Linked DNA regions of Homo sapiens: region 2 is linked to region 1. Evidence: promoter capture Hi-C in 16 types of primary human blood cells and fetal thymus (Javierre and others, 2016). All regions are on one chromosome and are shown on one strand. Each heading gives the region's core, a stretch centred on a gene start or on the middle of the fragment in contact. The rest is flanking DNA. Distances are from core to core; before and after follow the strand shown. Region 1 holds the start of HEPN1 (hepatocellular carcinoma, down-regulated 1). Region 2 has its middle 19 kb from the start of PKNOX2-DT.

Evidence for each region. Contacts are between HindIII fragments. The CHiCAGO score rates a contact against its expected background, and 5 or more counts as called.
Region 2: a contact is called between a fragment that was not itself captured here and the fragment with the promoter of HEPN1 in region 1, in 1 of 17 cell types (naive CD4 T cells). The highest score is 6.0, in naive CD4 T cells.

Annotation. Positions count from the first base shown.
Region 1 is chr11:124,915,201-124,920,566 of GRCh38, reverse strand. It overlaps HEPN1 (hepatocellular carcinoma, down-regulated 1), which reads right to left and starts at 1,317. Exons shown (of 1, transcript NM_001037558.4): 1 at 1-1,317. The coding sequence starts at 816. The coding sequence ends at 550. HEPACAM (hepatic and glial cell adhesion molecule) reads left to right here. Exons shown (of 7, transcript NM_152722.5): 7 at 1-1,362. All of the region lies in intron 1 of LOC107984406 (a long non-coding RNA gene), which reads right to left. The HindIII fragment of the contact is 3,231 bases long and covers 1-1,790 here.
Region 2 is chr11:125,143,104-125,148,645 of GRCh38, reverse strand. No RefSeq gene overlaps it. Among named protein-coding and RNA genes, the nearest start is that of PKNOX2-DT, 19 kb to the left of the region's middle. The HindIII fragment of the contact is 5,881 bases long and covers 662-5,542 here.

The sequences.
Region 1 (5,366 bases), core at 68-2,567:
ATTGTGAAGGCCTTCTTCCCTGGGCACCTGGTACCTGGGGACCTACAAGGTGGTGAGGGAAGGGTACGAGTACATTCCTTTTCCCTCTGACCTGGGCGCTAGCAAGGGCAAAGAACCCGAGCCTGCCAGCTTGGCCTCCTCCCACAGCCTCCCTCGGAGGCATGCCATGCCAAGCACTCTTTCTGTCTCTGTTCATGAATAAAAGAGATGGATGGGCTTATTCTTATAGAGAAGTGAATTTCACTTACTCCCCTGGCCCGAAAACTAGACCAAATGAGGAACTGTTTTAGCTCATCAAACTCATATATTCCTCCTGGCTTCCTTACAAAACAAGCCTTTCAAACAATCATTGTCCTCAGGAAAGTTGTTGAGCTTCCTCCAGCTGTGAGAATAAGTCCTAATCTCCAGAGAAATGGTGGGGGGAGGAGGAGGCTTATTGCTTCCCAGCATTTGGGGGGAACATGATCCAACCCCTGGCCTCCTGCCACCCATCTGCCCTGCTCCCACATGCTCAGGTCCCAGGGCACAGAAAAAGGGCAGACTCCCTAATCACACTAACATCAAAATAAAGAGGCTGGGCCGCTGTGTAGCCAGGACATGCCCATGCCACCGCCTATTGAACAGTTCATAGGAGTGGCAGTAATCTACTGTGTGAGGAGAGAGGGCAATTAAAAAGCTGAAAGAGAAGGAGGCCCTCTGTGTATTCCATTCCCTCCTCCTTAATGCCTCCAAGGGTCCTTGCATCCCTAGTCTCCTAAACTCCAGCTCTGATTCGCCATCAACCCATGGAGCAATTCCAAGGCCCCAGTTACCCATCACCTCCACACCAGGTCAAGTTTTGTCTCAGCCCCAAAGGCACTGACATTTCTAGTTTGCCCCCTCTGCCCTGAACCCCACAGCATGCCTGTCTCAGCTCCCTGTCCCTCGGCACTTCCCCAGGCTCATTTGAGCAGGTGTGCCTTCGCAGCTCCCCTAAACTTCCCAGGTGCCTCATCCATAATGAGATAATGCATGTAGGGGAAAAGTTTCTCAAGAAGGTGGAAGAGGCAGCAGGACTTGGATAAGGAGTACCTGCTGGTCAGCCTTGAGATGCACAGGTGAAGGTTAGGGTGAGATGAGAACATGCCATACCCTGGTGCTGAATCCCTGAGGGGCCAGCTTGCCAGGCTTAAGCCAAATCTGCCTTAAATTGGGGGTGGGGAGGGGTAAGTAAGGAAGTGGGGTTTGTTTTTGTGTTGTTTTCATCTTCATCTTTGTATTACTAGCATCCAGCAGAGTGCCTAGCACATACTGGATGCTCAATAAACTTTTGATGAAATGAAATGACAACTTTATTCCACATAAACAAGGGTAACAAAACAAGCTGCTTAAATATACCAGTCATTTCTCTTCTTCTCCTTTCACCTCCTTTACCCTCTTTCCAAACCCCAAATTGTCCGTTCCAAAATCACTTACCCGTTCATTCATTTACTTATTCAGGTGTTCTTTTATTTATTCGACAAACATTTGTTTACCTACCATGGACTAGGCCCTGTGCTAGACACTGCTGATACAGCATAACTATGTCAGGAAGACAGATCAGTAAACAGATTACAATATAGTGTGTAAAATGCAATGGCAGAAGTAGATACAAGGTGCTCTGGGAGCATGTAGATTAGATGTCAGCAAAGGCATCTTGGAGGAGAACAGACCTGAGTTGAGTCTTTCTTAGAAAGACTTGTTAGTTAATCTGGTTTTTAAAAGTATGAGAGGACACACTCCAAGCAGAGGGAGAAGCATGTATAAAAGCTTGGAAGTGCAAGACACGATGGGGGGGAATTCAGGGTACTGAGCCTAGCAGTTGATGAAATTATTTCAGGAAAGTATACAAAGTAGAAGGTGAAGAAAGCTGCAGATAGATTTCTGAGGCATCAGTATGTGTAGAAAATTTAAAAGGACTTCACCAAGAAGGCTTAAAAGGCACAGCCAGCAAGATAGGAGAATATATAGGAGATAACTATATCACACAATCAAAAGAACAAGAGAGTTTCAAGAAAAAGGGAGCATTCGGGACTACAAGGGCAGGGGGCTCACATATGAAATGAAGTTAAAAGTGCATGTTAAATTTGGCAACAATGAAAACATTGAGTGACTTGGCATAAGTAGTTTCAGACATGTAGTAGGGGTTAAAGCCAGATTGCAACAGGTAAAAAGTGATATGTGGAACTTCTCTGCTAAATACTTGAGACTAGATGTTTGAGAGGTCTTCCTGTTTCAAAACAACTAGGTCTTGCTTAAATGATATTTGTTTTGCATTGCTGGCTTCAAGAGATGGGGGAATTTTTTTTTTTTTTTCAGACAGAGTCTCATTCTTGTCACCCAGGCTGGAGTGCAATGGCGCAGTCTAGGCTCACTACAACCTCTGCCTCCTGGGTTCAAGTGATTCTCCTGCCTCAGCCTCCCGAGTAGCTGGGACTACAAGCACGTGCCACCATGTCCAGCTAATTTTTGTATTTTTGGTAGAGACAGGGTTTCACTATGTTGGCCAGGCTGATCTCAAACTCCTGACCTCATGATCCGCCCACCTTGGCCTCCCAAAGTGCTGGGATTACAGGCATGAGCCACTTCCCTGCCAGAGATGGGGGAAATTTTTAAGCAGTCAGAAGTAAAACAAAATTTAAAAGCACAGTGAGCTCAAAGTACTTAGCACTCATTAAATATGAGATTACCAAGGGAGGTGAAGCAAGATGGCTGAATAGAAGCCTTCACTGATTGTCTTCCTGCAAAAACACCAGATTGAACAACTGTCCACACAAAAAAAGCACCCTCATAACAACCAAACATCCAATGAGTGATCACAATACCTGGTTTTAACTTCATATCACTGAAAGAGGCACTGAAGAAGGTAAGAAAGACAGTCTTGAATTGCTGACACCACCCCTCCCTCATCACCCGGCAGCTGCCGCATGGAACAGAGAGAGAATCTCTGCACTTGCGGGAGGGAGAGTGCAGTCATTGTGGGGCTTTGCATTGGAACGCAGTGCTGCCCTGTCACAGGGAGAAACAACACCAGGCAGAACTCAGCCAGCACCCACAGAAGGAGCATTTAGACCAGCCCTCGCCAGAGAGGAATTACACATCCCAGTGGTTGGAACCTGAATTCCAAAAAGACTCACGACCATGGGTTAAAGTGCTCTGGGGTCCTAAATAAACTTTTAAAAGTCTGTCTAGGACACAAGGACTGCAATTCTAGGGGGGATTCCTGATGCTGTGCTGGGCTTGAAGCCAGTGGACTTGAGCATATGATCTAGTGAGACACCAGCTGGTGCAGCCAAGGGAGTGCTTGCATCATCCCTCTGCCAACACCAGGCATCACAGCTTGCAGCTTTGAAAAAGACTCCTTTCTGTGGTTGGAGGAGAGGAGCAGGAAGAGTAAACAGGACTGTGTATTGCAACTTGGATATCAGCTCAGCCACAGTAGGACAGGGCATAAGACAAGCTCAGCCACAGTAGGATAGGGCATAAGACAGAGTCCTGAGTCCCCCATTTCAGGCCCTAGCTCCCAGACAACATTTCTAGACACCCTGGGCCAGAAGGGAACCCATTGGTTTGAAGGGAATGACCCAGTCCTGGCAGCATTCATCACCTGCTCTCTCTAGAGCCCAAGGGCCCTCAATAATTTGCAATAGAACCCAAGCAGTACTTGCCATTGGCCTTGGGTGAGACTAAGAGACATGTTGGCTTCAGATGTCACCAAGCACCTTTCCAGCTGTGGTGGCTATGGGAAGGGGCTCCTTCTGCTTGAGAAAAGTTGAAGGAAGGATAAAGGGGACTTTGTCTTGCAGCTTAGGTACCGGTGTGGCCTCAGTGCGGTAGAGAACCAAGTGGGCTCTTGGGGTCCCCAATTCCAGGGTTTAGCTCTTGTATGGCATTTCTGGACCTGCCCTAGTGGCCATAGTGGAGCCCACTGCCTAGAAAGGAGAGTCCTATGCTTAGCAGCATTCATAAGCTGACTCAAGAGCCCTTGATCCATGAATGAACATCAGCAGTAGCCAGGCAGTATTGACCATGGGCCTGGGGCAGTGGTGACCAAGGGAAGAGACACCTCTGCTTGAGGAAAGGAGAGGGAAGAGTGGGAAAGACATTGCCTTGGGCTTGGGTGCCAGCTCAGCTGGAGTAAAATAGAGCACCAGGTAGATTCCTAAAGTTTCTTACCCCAGGCCCTGGCTCCCAGGTGACATCTCTGGACCTGCCCAGGACTGGTGGAAACTTGGCACCCTGAAGTAATGGATACAAGCCTGGCTGGCATTGCCACCTGCTGACTCTAGAGCCTTAGGGCCTTGAGCGAACATAGCTGGTAGCCAGACAGTGGTTACCACAGGCCTTTGGTGACACCTGGTGCTGTGCTGGCTTCAGGTCTGACGCAGCACAGTCTCAGTGATGGTGGCCACAGGGATACTTGTGTCACCCTTCTTCCAGCTCCAGGCAGCTCAGCACAAACAGAGAGAGAAGGAGAGAGAGAGAGAAAGGGAGAGAGAAGAGGAGAGGAGAGGAGAGGAGAGGAGAGAGAGACTGCTTGTTTTGGAGAAAGAAAAGGAAGAGAATAAGAGTCTATGTCTGATAATCCAGAGGATTCTTCTAGATCTTATCTAAGACCATAGGGTGGTATCTCTTCAAGTCTGCAGGAGCCACAGTGTTACTGGACTTGGGGTGCCCCCTAATGCAGATACAGCTGCAGTCACCAAAAACTAAATCACAACACCCAAGTTCCTTTGAATACCTAGAAAGCCTTCCCAGGAAGGAAGGGTGCAAACAAACCCAGACTCCAATGAACATCCACAAGCATCAAGACCATTCAGGAAATATGACCTCACCAAATGAACTAAATAAGTCACCGGTGACTAATCCCAGAGAGACACAGATGTGTGACCTTTCAGACAGATAATTCAAAATGGCTGTTTTGAGGAAACTCAAAGAAATTCAAGAGAACACAGAGAGGAATTCAGAATCCTATCAGATAAATTTAACAAAGAGATTGAAATAATTTAAAAGAATCCAGTAGAAATTCTGGAGTTAAAAACTGCAAGTGAAATACTGAAGAACACATCAGAATCTGTTAATAGTGGAATTAATCAAGCAGAAGAAAGAATTAGTGAGTTTGAAGACAGGCTATTTGAAAATACACAGTTATAGGAGACAAAAGGAAGAAGAATAGAAGAGAATGAAAGTATGCCTACGATATCAAGAAAATAACTTCAAAAGGGCAAATCTAAGAGTTTTGGGCCTTCAAGAGAAAATCGAGAGATGAGGGTAGAAAGTTTATTCAAAGGGATAATAACAGAAAACTTCCCAAACCAAGAGAAAGATATCAATATTCAAGTGCAAGA
Region 2 (5,542 bases), core at 2,353-4,852, 230 kb before region 1:
ATAGCACCATGCTCGGAATCAAGAGGCCCGGGTTCCAATTCAGCTGTGAAAAGCCATACCCACCACCAAGGGCTCAGCCTTCAAATGAAAGGGATGACCTCAATAATCCCTGGGGCTCCTTCCAGTTCTCACTTCTTAGGAGCCTGTCATGGAACCCCTCAACCTGGGTCCCTTGGTACTCACTTGCCAATCTGCCAGCTGCCGTTAGTCACGGCATCCAGCTCTATGATTAGAAAGAAAATAAGCCCCAAAGTCACTTCATGTGCTAAAATGAATTTCTAAAAACCAAACATTCACCCATGTCAATAGAAGAAAATACAACTATACTTCAAAAATGAATATGTTTTCAACAAAAATGTTATGTGGCAAATGCTCCTTAAACCATTTTCTATTTTGAGCATGTTGCTCTGACAGAGGGATCTCCAGTTACATGAAAACTACTTATGACATTGCAGAGGGTTGTGATTACACATCTGAGTGTATCTGCACTAAGTTCAGGTTCATGGATGGAAACCATCACATCAGTTGAAACTGTCTTGCACTTAGTAGGAGTTTGGTGTTTGTTAAATGAATGAATATCTGTCTTAATTGTACCTCTTGGACACTGAAACTATCATTCCCAATCCAAATTATTCCTATTTTTCTGCTATTTTTAAAAGCTTTGAGGAAAAAGTATTAATCTAAAAGGGTTGAGAAATCCTGTAGCTAATAGGCTGATGCACTAAGAGAATTATTTAGCAGATGCCAAGTCCTGAGCCTTGTGTTCTCAGCACCAGAAGACAAAAGCTGTGATGACCCTGTTTGATTAGAGAAACTTGTGCCTTTAAGTTTCCACCCATAAATCATGGATGCCAGCCTGGGTGTTCACCACCATCAGATAATAATAGCAACATATATTAATACATAGCATTTCCTTTATGCCAGAGCCCTTCCAAGTCCTTTGCATGCATTAACTCTCATCACTATCACAGCAACCCTAGGAAATAGGTACTGTTGTCATCTCCATTTTACTGATGGGAGAATCAAGGTACAAGGAAGGTGAGTTAACCCATCTAAGGTCGCACAGTAAGTGGAGGGCCGGCTTTGAATGCAGGCAAGCTGGCTCCAGAGTCTGTGCTGAAGTCACCTCTACATTATACGGTCTGAGCAGCAGCATGCTGCCAAGGGAGTTGGAGTCATTCCTGGATATAGATGTAACCTGGAACCCGTAAGCATTTCATCACCTCTTCACCCTTAAAGACTCTTCCCACCCTGTCCTGCAGCAGCCCAGGAGACTATGATTTCTGCGCTCGAACTGAGGGTGCAAGGGGAGAGGTGAGTGTGACTTTGGCTCTCCCAAACACCAGCATGGCTCATTTTTTTAGGTGGATGCCAGTGTATCCTTATCCATCTCCAAGTTTCTGCACGCCATGCCATCCTGCCTGGCAGGGGAGGGAGGGGGTATAAGGAAAGTCACCTTTCCCTGGGACCACAAGGTCCTGTTTCTTGTGCCATAGCACTGCAATCACCAGGCAAGGCTGTTTCCCGTAAAGATCAATCAATGCTGCCCCCATCCCACGTTCCCACCCTTTCCTGCTCCTCGGCCTACAACTGCTATCGATTACAGCAGAGCAGGGAAGCAAATGCCAAAATATATCAATCAATCACCAAAGTGGTCAAGAGACTTTATTAAAACCACTATGCCTTCTTCTATTTTCCTGCCCCCCGCCCCAGCTTCCTCGGCCCAGTGGCCATTTCTTTTGGAAGGTTTCCAAGAACTTTGCAGACATGATCTGATGGCTGGTGGAATTTCCTCTATTTGGGGAAAATTTAGACCCAGAGAAGGAGCAAGAACAAGTCCCATAGTGAGAAGATGGAAACCAGGTGTGTGAAAATACGTGCAAGTGTCTGTGCAGTACATATATGAAAATGTGCAAGTATGTGTGTTTGTTTAAAGAAAAACCTAGAACTTAGTCACATTTCAGAAACATTTGGTAATTATCGCTGAAGTTTTTACAAATCAATTCCTTCTGGTCGCTTAATGTCCTTCACTAAGTGGTTTAGTTGTGAAATTTCACTTTATAATTGGGTTCATTTTAATGCAGAAAGAGGTAGATTTGCATAAGCAAATGACAAACAGTTAACAAAACCCATTAGCAGAGAGGCAGGACTCTAAAGAGCCACACACCTGGGTAGTCAGCTCAGAATCAAAGCCTGTGGCAAGGAAATCCCTGACCTCACCCAGACCAAATTCCAGGCCTCTAATGAGAGGGGAAGGAGGACACACATTTCAAGTGCCTTAACAGATTGCTTAGTCCTAGCAGACTAAGTTGCTAGGATGAGAGGAGACCCTCAGAGAGACAGTTTCATTTGCTTGTCAATGAAAAACCAAAGACTTTTCTTTCTTTTTTCTTTTTCTTTTTCTTTTCTTTTTTTTTTTTTTTTTTTTTTTTTTTTTTTTGAGATGGAGTCTCACTCTGTCACCCAGGCTGGAGTGCAATGGCGCGATCTTGGCTCACTGCAACCTCTGCCTCCCGGGTTCAAGTGATTCTTCTGCCTCAGCCTCCCCAGTAGCTGGAATTACAGGTGCCCGCCACCACGCCCAGCAAATTTTTGTGTTTTTAGTAGAGACGGGGTTTCACCATGTTGGCCAGGCTGGTCTCGAACTCCTGACCTCAGTGATCCTCCCACCTCGGCCTCCCAAAGTGCTGGGATTACAGGCATGAGCCACTACCCCCAGCCCAAAGACTTTTTTGTCTAAGGAAAGTCTGGACAAGGATTTTTTTTTAACCGGCAGTTTTATACAGCTATCTGACAACTCTTGGTCCAGATGAAAAAAGCATGGACTCAGAGTAGCGGGGGAGACAGAGAATCTGACTGCCAACTCTCATTCTGCCACGAACTAGCAAGGATCCTCATGCCTCAGTTTCCTCTTCTGTAAAAAGACAACCTAAAACTAGATTATGAGTTCTTATGTTTCCCAAACTCCTGCTGTCATCACAAGTAATTGACTCATTCATTCATTCACCCAACAGATATTTATTGCACCCTTGCTATGAGCAGGTTCTGTAGAAATTAGAGAATCATGAGGAGACAGGGTGAGGCCTCAGTGCTGGGGAACACATAGCCATAGACAAGGCCCTACCCTCGTGGAATTTATCTTCTAATGGGGTGTTATGGATTGAATTGCACCCCCCACCAAATTCATATGTTGAAACCTTAACCACTAATGTGACTGTATTTAGAGATAAGTCTTCTTTTTTTTTTTTTTTTTTTTTAAGATGGAGTTTCACTCTTGTTGCCCAGGCTGGAGTGCAATGGCGTGATCTCGGCCCACTGCAACCTCCACCTCCCTGGTTCAAGTGACTCTCCTGTCTCAGCCTCCCGAGTAGTTGGGATTACAGGCACCCGCCACCACACCCGGCTAATTTTGTGTTTTTAGTAGAGACGGGGTTTCACCAGGTTGGCCAGCCTGGTCTCAAACTCCTGACCTCAAGTGATCTGCCTGCCTCAGCCTCCCAAAGTGCTAGGATTACAGGTGTGAGCCACCGTGTCCTGCAGAGATAGGGTCTTTAAGGAAGTAATTAAGGTTAAAGTTACAAGGGTGGGGGTCTAATCCAATAGGACTGGTGTCCTTATAAAAAGAGAAAAAAACAGAGATTCCCTCCTCCTCATTCTGCCAACCTGTGCACAAAGAGGTCATGGGAGGGCATAGGGAGAAGGCAGCCACCTACAAGCCAAACAGAGAGGCTTCCCCGGAAACCAACCTTGCTAACACGTTGATCTTGAACATCCAGCCTCCAGAACTGTAAGAAAATAAATGTCTGTTGTTTAAGCCCCGCAGTCTGTGGCATTTTGCTACATAGCTGGAGCTGACAGATACAAGGGTAAGCAGGGAAGGGCACAGTGTTATGGGAGCGCAGATTAGGGCCGCCCCACCCAGGCTACAGGGGGATGGAAGGTTTTCCAGAGAACCTGCCATCCAAATATAGACCTGAAGGGAGGATTAACAGGTGCAAACAGGAGAGAGTACTCAGGGCAGGACGCCCACATGTGTGAAGACCCTGAGGGAAGAGGAGCAAGTTCTGTCAGAGGACCTGAACACGTTTCTTTATGGATGGAGCCTGGAGGGTGAGATGAAGAGGGGGTGGAATGAGGCTGAGGAGGTCGGGGGAGCCAGCGTGGCTGACATTTCATAAGCAAACACGCTGAAGATCCCAGAGAACAAGCTGCTCCACTTTTCGACACTTCGGACTCACCCCATTGATGCTTCTGATTCTGCTGGAAAAAATGCCAACTTGGGCTCTGCAGGTTCCAAGAAGTCGTGAGCTTTTCCCTGCCACCTGATTGGCTGCATCATTCCTCAGCATCACTGCGTGTGTTCCTTGTGGAAATGCTTCGCTTGTTCATCCATAAGCTCCCTCCTTACCTTTCAAAGCCTCTTCTGGGACTGCCTCTTCTGGTGCTTGCCTTCAGTTCTATAAAATTCCTTTGCTTTTCATTAATAATTGCTAGTGTTTATTGCGTTAGTTAATACTAACCATGTCCCAGGTGTTGTTTTAGGGGCTTTATGTGTATTAGCTCTTTTAATCCTCACGACAACACTATGAAGTAGATTCTATTAATTCTAGTTTATGGATGAGGAAACTGAAGCACAGAGAGATTAAATAGTCACTTGTCCAGGGCCGCTTGGCTAACAAATGGAGGAGGCAGGATTAAAACCCAGGCAGTTGGCTGGGGGCAGTGGTGCACGCCTGTGATCCCAGCACTTTGGGAGGCCGAGACTGCCTGATCTCAGAAGTTCGAGACCATCCTGGGCAACGTGGTGAAACCTCATCTCTACCAAAATACAAAAAATTAGCCAGGCGTGGTGGTGGGTGCCTGTAGTCTCAGCTACTTGGGAGGCTGAGGCAGGAGAATCGCTTGAACCTAGAAGGTGGAGGTTACAGTGAGCCAAGATTTCACCACAGCACTCCAGCCTAGGTGACAGAGGGAGGCCCTGTCTCAAAAAAAAAAAAAAAAAAAAAAACCCGGGCAGTCTAGCTTGGGTGTCTATGCTCTTAACCACTACGCTGTGCTGTCCAAAAAAAAAAAAAAAAAGATGGAAACTGAGGCTTGGCTAGGTTCTCCTGGCTAGGTGAAGCATGGGTGCCAGGACTAGAACTGAGGTCTTCCTGATCCCATGTTCTCTGCTGTTCACACTTAGCGGGGCTGCCTCTTGAGGGAAAGGAGGAGAAGCAGATGAGTTTGAGGACCACTCAGGAGGTAGACAAGCTAGGACTATCATGAGGGTAATCAAAGAATAAGGGATACAATAGGAAGCCAAGGGCAAAGCCAGGTTTCTAGGTCAACTGTGCAGCCAAACCTTCATCATCTTCTGCCACTTTATTTTATTTATTTATTTATTTATTTTGAGATGGAGTCTCGCTCTGTCACCCAGGCTGGAGTGCAGTGGTGCAATCTCGGCTTACTGCAACCTCAGCCTCCCAGGTTCAAGCAATTCTCCTGCCTCAGCCTCCTGAGTAGCTGGGACTACAGGTGCGTGCCACCACGCCCAGCTAAT